Linked DNA regions of Homo sapiens: region 2 is linked to region 1. The links are contacts of gene promoters, found by promoter capture Hi-C in human tissues and cell types (Jung and others, 2019). All regions are on one chromosome and are shown on one strand. The core of a region is centred on a gene start or on the middle of the fragment in contact, and the rest is flanking DNA. Distances in the headings are between cores, read along the strand shown. Region 1 holds the start of CHST12 (carbohydrate sulfotransferase 12). Region 2 overlaps MAD1L1 (mitotic arrest deficient 1 like 1).

Evidence for each region. Contacts are between HindIII fragments. The study calls those that stand out against the background at their distance.
Region 2: a fragment that was not itself captured here is called in contact with the fragment with the promoter of CHST12 in region 1 in 1 of the 25 tissues and cell types used here (dorsolateral prefrontal cortex).

What each region holds. Positions count from the first base shown.
Region 1 is chr7:2,402,304-2,405,639 of GRCh38, forward strand. It overlaps CHST12 (carbohydrate sulfotransferase 12), which reads left to right and starts at 1,308. Exons shown (of 2, transcript NM_018641.5): 1 at 1,308-1,370. RefSeq lists an enhancer at 785-884 and silencers at 975-1,344, 1,435-1,604. The HindIII fragment of the contact is 33,157 bases long and covers 1-3,336 here.
Region 2 is chr7:2,031,319-2,034,284 of GRCh38, forward strand. All of the region lies in intron 12 of MAD1L1 (mitotic arrest deficient 1 like 1), which reads right to left. Among named protein-coding and RNA genes, the nearest start is that of SNORA114, 56 kb to the right of the region's middle. RefSeq lists enhancers at 94-775, 1,458-2,137. The HindIII fragment of the contact is 6,845 bases long and covers 1-2,966 here.

The DNA.
Region 1 (3,336 bases), core at 58-2,557:
CCGAGGCGGGCGGATCACGAGGTCAGGAGTTCGAGACCATCCTGGCTAACACGGTGAAACCCCGTCTCTACTAAAAATACAAAAAATTAGCCGGGCGTGGTGGCGGGCGCCTGTAAGTCCCAGCTACCCGGGAGGCTGAGGCAGGAGAATGGCGTGAACCCGGGAGGCGGAGCTTGCAGTGAGCCGAGATCGGGCCACTGTATTCCAGCCTGGGCGACAGAGCGAGACTCTGTCTCAACAACAACAACAACGACAACAACAACAACAACAACAACAACAAAGGTTAAGATGGTAAATTTTATGTTCTATATATTTTACCATAATTTAAAAAAAAAATGACTGGGCCTGGCGCGGTGGCTCACGCCTGTAATCCCAGAGCTCTGGGAGGCTGAGGCAGGAGGATTGCTTGAGTCTAGGGGTTCAAGACCACCCTGGGCAACATAGTGAGACCCCCGTTTCTATTAAAAATTAAAAATTAGCCGGGTGTGGTGGCACCTGTCTGTAGTTCCATCTACTTGGGAGGCTGAGGTGGGAGGATGGCTTGAACCCAGGAGGTCGAGGCTGCAGTGAGCTGTGACTGCACCGCTGCACCCCATCCTGGACGACACGGTGAGATCCTGTCTCTAAAAAAATAAACAAACAAACACACAAAACTACATTGATGCCAAGAACAATTACTGCATGCTCACTATGCATTAGGCATCTTGCTAAGCTCTTTACCCGTGTCATCTCGTTTGTCTCACATACTCCCTGAAAGGTAGGGTCACTAACCTATTATATTTTACGGATTGGCGACAACCTCAGAGAGGTTAAGTCACTTGCCCAAGGTCACACAGCGAGTCTCAAGCCCCAGCCGGTGAGCATCACGATCCTTTGCCAATGAGCCGATGCTCGAGAAAGGGTCGGATAGACAACAGGCACTGCATAAAGGTTGGTTAACGGGATCGTGTTTGGCTGCAACGTGGAGCTCCCGGGTCGAACGGCGAGACAGCTGCGCGTCCCCGAGCCGCCGCGCGCCCGGTCCGCCGGGGCGGAGTCAACGCCGCGGATTGGCTGCTGAGAAAGGGGCGTGGCTCGTGGCGGCCGGTGGGCGGAGTCGATCTCTGGCCGTAAATACGGCGCCACATGGCACTGGCTCGCGAGGGCGGGGGCGGGCGGGCTGGCCGGGCGCAGGCGCGCTGAGGGCGGGCGCCCCTCGGCCTCCGTGGCCCCTCCGGCGGCCGCGACGTCTCGCGAGAAGACGACCGGTAGGAGGGGCTCCTGCGCCGGGGGCGGGGCCGGCGAGGGCTGCCTCTGGGGGGTCCGCTAGTCGCGGGGCGGCGGCGGCGGCTGCGGGCGCGAGGTGAGGGGCGCGAGGTGAGGGTCGCGAGGTGAGGGGCGCGGCGGGCGGCGGGCTCGGGGCGCGGTCTCCCTCTCTCTCGGCCAGTGCTGGGCTCCCAGGGCCCGGGCGGGGGTCCCGGGCCGCGCTGAGGGGCGCGGGTCGGCTCTCCTTAACCTGGCCTGGCGGGCGCGGCTTGGGCCTGGGTTCGAGTTCCCGCGCCGGCGCGCAGTGTGACCTTGGCCCTGCGCGCGCCCTCTCTGAGCCCCGCTCGTCGTCCTCGGCCAGGGGGACCCAGCCCTGGGGCCCTGATCAGCGCGTTCTGCGGCTCCTCGGGGTCTGGACGAGAAATCTGTGGTTCTGATTCAGCGACAGCAGAGGCTGCAGCGGCCCCGCCGGCCCCCAGGAGTCCCCCTGCCCGGCATCAGCCTCTGCCGCCCGGCAGGGGTAGGACCAATTCCCGGGCTTGGAGTTCCAGGATCCCCAGCTCCCGAGGGCCCCCGTGTGCCTGCTGTCACCTGAACGGGGCTCCCCGGCCCCGCCGACCGCAGCCCTGGAGCCTGCAGACGCCAGCAGCACCGGCAGGTCGCTCAGGGTATCCCTTAAATGACCTCTCACTCCAGAAGCCGCAGCCCTGCCCCTCTGGGAGAGGAAACCGTGCATTTAGTCCGGGAACAGTGGGACTTAGACCTCCTCTGCGGGCTCCCGGCCACCGAGACACCGCCGGCAAAGCCTTGGCTCGGGCAGAGGCTCCGTCTGGCAGGCAGCACAACAAGCCATAGTGTTTCCAGCATTATTAAATTATTTAGTTCATAAGCGGGGCTGTGGGGACTCGGAAGCCCCGGGGTGAATAGGAATGTGAGTTGCAGGCGCGGTGCTGGACGCAGTACATCTTCCAGGACACCAGGCCCTACGGTGCTGTTCCCGGCTGTGGGTGGTTGGGGACAGCTCAGCGGGTCCCCCACTTACCCCCACGCGGGGACCCGGGTTAGCCCCTCACCGTGAGCATCTGGTGTTGGGAGTCAGGGCTGGTGTCTGAGTGAGGATGGAGAGAAAACAGGGGTAATGAGGAGATTGCTACACGAAGGTGCAACGCTTGAGATCTGAAAGAGCACCTGCCTGGAATGGCATAGATGTTTGATTTCCCTGCAAAGGAGTTTATGGGACTTTGGGCTGACGCTTTGGGGCCAGCAGTAACTGTCTGCTGTCACTCAGCTGACTCCAGCTTTATTATCAAACCTCCAATCGAGTGCAAGATGCTAAGCTGGGGTAGATGCCGGTAATAGCGTGGGCCTTGCCCTGGGAGCTCACGGCCAGCCTGGCTACAACTGTGTGGAGTTGAGACTGTGGTGCAGGCGTTAACAGAATGTGGCGACATTTTCCGACATTTTCCACAGTGGAGAGGACCTATGAATTGGGGCGTTTGGAGGCAAAGGGCATGCAGAGATGTGGAAGTGAAAGTGATGTTTGGGGGAGATGGTGGGTCGCCGTGTTCTTGATGAAGTGGGGTTTGAGGATTGGGTTGGAAGCTAAGACTGGAAGGCCGGGCGAGGTGGCTCGTGACTGTAATCCCAGCACTTTGGGAGGCAGAGGCGGGCGGATCACCTGAGGTCAGGAGTCCGAGACCAGCCTGGCCAACATGGTGAAACCCCATCTCTACTAAAAATACAAAATTTAGCTGGGCGTGGTGGTGCACACCTGAAGTCCCAGCTACTTAGGAGGATGAGTCAAGAGAATAGCTTGAACCTGGAGGCGGAAGTTGCAGTGAGCCGACACTGGGCCTCTGCACTCCAGCCTGGGCAACAGAGTAAAAAAAAGACTGGAAAGATGGGTTTCTGATTGTGCAGGGGCCTGAATGCTGTGTGAGGGAGTTTAAACTTTTATCCCTTTGGTGGTGGTTTGGGTGCGACGCGATTAGATGTGTTTCAGAAAAGTGGTCGTGGTGAGAATATGGGAGGTGGGTTTTGCCTCTGGGCAGTGGAGCTGAGTTGAGTAGCCTTGTGGGGCGTGGGTCTGGG
Region 2 (2,966 bases), core at 310-2,809, 370 kb before region 1:
CTGGCCTCCACCACCCACGTGTAGCTGTGGGGGAGGGGGAAAAGGGGCTGTTCTGGGCTCCCCACCAGCAAGCCTGGTTTTTACAATTTCAACCTCTGATAAAAAGCTCTACAACACCTATTGTAGGAAGGAGTGGAATCAATTATGATTTCCCGAGGCAATTTTACTTACATTTCACACTGCTCTATGACAAATTCCACTTCATTTGTGTTCGCTGTATAAATGCATTCCCCAGCATCCACCTGAACCAGCACCAGCCTTGTTACAGCAGCTGCTCACACCTGCGCTATGACGACGTGGGTGCCGTGCACATCTGGGAGGGCACTGGGACCATCCTGACAGGAAGCCATACCCAAGCCACAGTGGCTGCAGACGGCCCCTCACCAGGGAGGAGGACGTGACCCTCGCAAGGTCTCGCCAGCATGCCTGACCCACGCGGATATGGGGCCATGGGCCTGAGACAGGCCCTGTGCCGCATGGCTCTATTTTGAGTGCAGTTTATTTGACAGGACAGGGAGAAAGGAGAGCAGGGCAACGTGGGAAACAGACAGCACAGTGGAGTCACGGCTCTGGGGCCACTACTCAGCCTGAGCAGTCAGACGGGTTCCTTTCCTCTCTAGGCCTCCAGCGTTCCTATCAGCAAAACAGGGAATTAGATGGACTTGGTCTTCTACAGTTCAAAAATCTTACAGTGCTGCAAAGTCTAGGTGGCTTTCTCCACCGACGGGTAACAGGCAGGCAGCCAGTGCCCAGGGTGCCAGGCACACTCCGGGCCTTGTGCCAAGGAGTTTCCATGCATCAGCTCCCTGACCCCTCATTCATGCGGGACGCCCGGCCCCAGTCCCTGTCCAGTGCCTGGAACAGAACAGGTGCTCAGGAACTGTGTGTTCAATTAAAAAATGAACGAGTGAAACCATCAGCCAATCAGTCCTCGGAACCACCTCCTGAGGCAGGCTGGAGTCCTCCCTTTCAGATGAGGACAAGGCTCCAGGGGAAGGCGCGCGCCCCAGGTCTCCAGCCTCCGTGAAGCCGAGCCTGGGCTCTTGGCCATCATGCTAACGGGCAGGTGGGAAAGCGCTTGCCCAGCCCTGGGCTCTAATAGCTACCTAAAGCCCCCGGGCAGCAGTGACCCCACGAGTCCTGAAAAGATTTGGTGCACATCCATGGCCAGGGGCAGGCCATTACCCAAACAGCTCTGACATCAGGGTCCTTCCTCAACTGAAAGCTCATCTCAGCTGGGGAGAGCTGGCCTTGCCTTCGTCTCCTTCAGAGCTGTGCTGGGCTGAGTGGGGCCAGAAATCAGCATGAGGAGAATTCAAAACAAGATGACTCGCCCATGGGAAGTACCTCCCACCAGGCTCGAGGGACCCTGTGCTGCTTCTGGCATTTTGAATTCGCGCCCAGGGCTGTGGGCTCCCACCAGGGTCAGGCCAGCTCCTAGCAAGTGGTGAGGGGGGTGGCGCCGGCCTGCTCTCCCAGAACTCAGCCTGGAGAGGGAGGCAGACGTGAGCACTGTAAGAACAGGCGAGGACAGGCAGGGCACTCAGGGAGCCCCACACCAGGAAGGAAGACCCACTCTGCACACAGGGAGAGTGTGCATGGGGCAGGGGGGCAAGGCGCCCCCGCAGAAGGACGTGGAGAGGGCACCAGCTGAGAAGATGCCCCCAGCCCACTGGTATCACGTGTCTACTGCCTTCTTGGGGTACAGCAGCGTGGGCTGAGGACACCCAGCTGACGCTGCCACTGACTGGCCATGATAAACAGACGCAGAACTCCGAGAGCTCACGCTCCCAGCCCAGCACCCCACTCATACACTCGCCAGCCAGGCACCACGTGCCAGGCCCTGTGCTGGCCAGGAGGTGGGCCCTTCGATCATCCCATTCTCACAGAGACAGCCCGGGTGCTGCAGGTGTGAGTAACGCACCCCGGGGGCACAGAACACCTGGGTGCGGAGCCCCAGTTTGAACCAGCCCAGATGACCCGGTCACCCCTGCCCTCGCCTGCTTCACTGCACTAGAACTAAAGGAAACAAGATGGATACTCCATGGAGCAAGGCCCTGAAAGGCTGTGGGCCCCGAAGCAGTGGAAGGAATGACAGAGAAAGACCAGCACGCTTCGCCACACCAACACCTCCGTGGGTCCCAAAACGCCACTTAAAAACACAAAAGGTAAAAGACAAACTGGGGAAAACGTGCCACAAATACATGAAAACCTTTTACAAATCAATAGGAAAATCACTAACACGGTAATAGAAAACTGGGAAAAATCAACAATCAACAGAAGAAACGTAACTGACAAACACAAAATTCATTAAGACCCGTTCCTCACCTGGAGTGGCAAGAAGTAAAATGCTAACACTCAGCACGAGTGAGGCCATGAGGGCTGCACGCTACACCTGCTGGGACAGCAGTCACGGGCGCTTCTGGAAAACGAGTCAGCAAAACTGGCCAAGGGTCCTGAAGGTGTTCACACCCTTCCACTCAGTAACAATTGCCTAAAAAGTAATCAGACTGCGGTGGCTCACACCTGCAATCCCAGCACTGTGAGAGGCCGAGGCAGGAGAATCACCTGAGACCAGCCTGGGCAACATAGTGAGACCCCATCTCTACAAAAAAAATTTTTTTTTAATTAGCCAGGCGGGGCGGCATGCACCTATAGTCCCAGCTACTGGGGAGGCTCAGGCAGGAGGATATATTGAGCCCTGGAGTTCAAGACTGCAGTGAGCCAAGATGGCGCCACCACATTGCAGCCTGGGCGACAGAGCAAGACCCTGTGTCTAAACAAATAAATAAATAACAAATGAATCAGATATGGGGAAAGCACTGAGTCCAAGGATGTTGCACACATTAGCAATAATCATGAAAAAATTAAAAACAAAGCTAAATTTCCAATAAAGAGTCTCCTTTTTTTTTTTTTTGGAGACGGAGTCTCGCTGTCGCCCAGGCTGGAGTGCAATGGTGTGATCT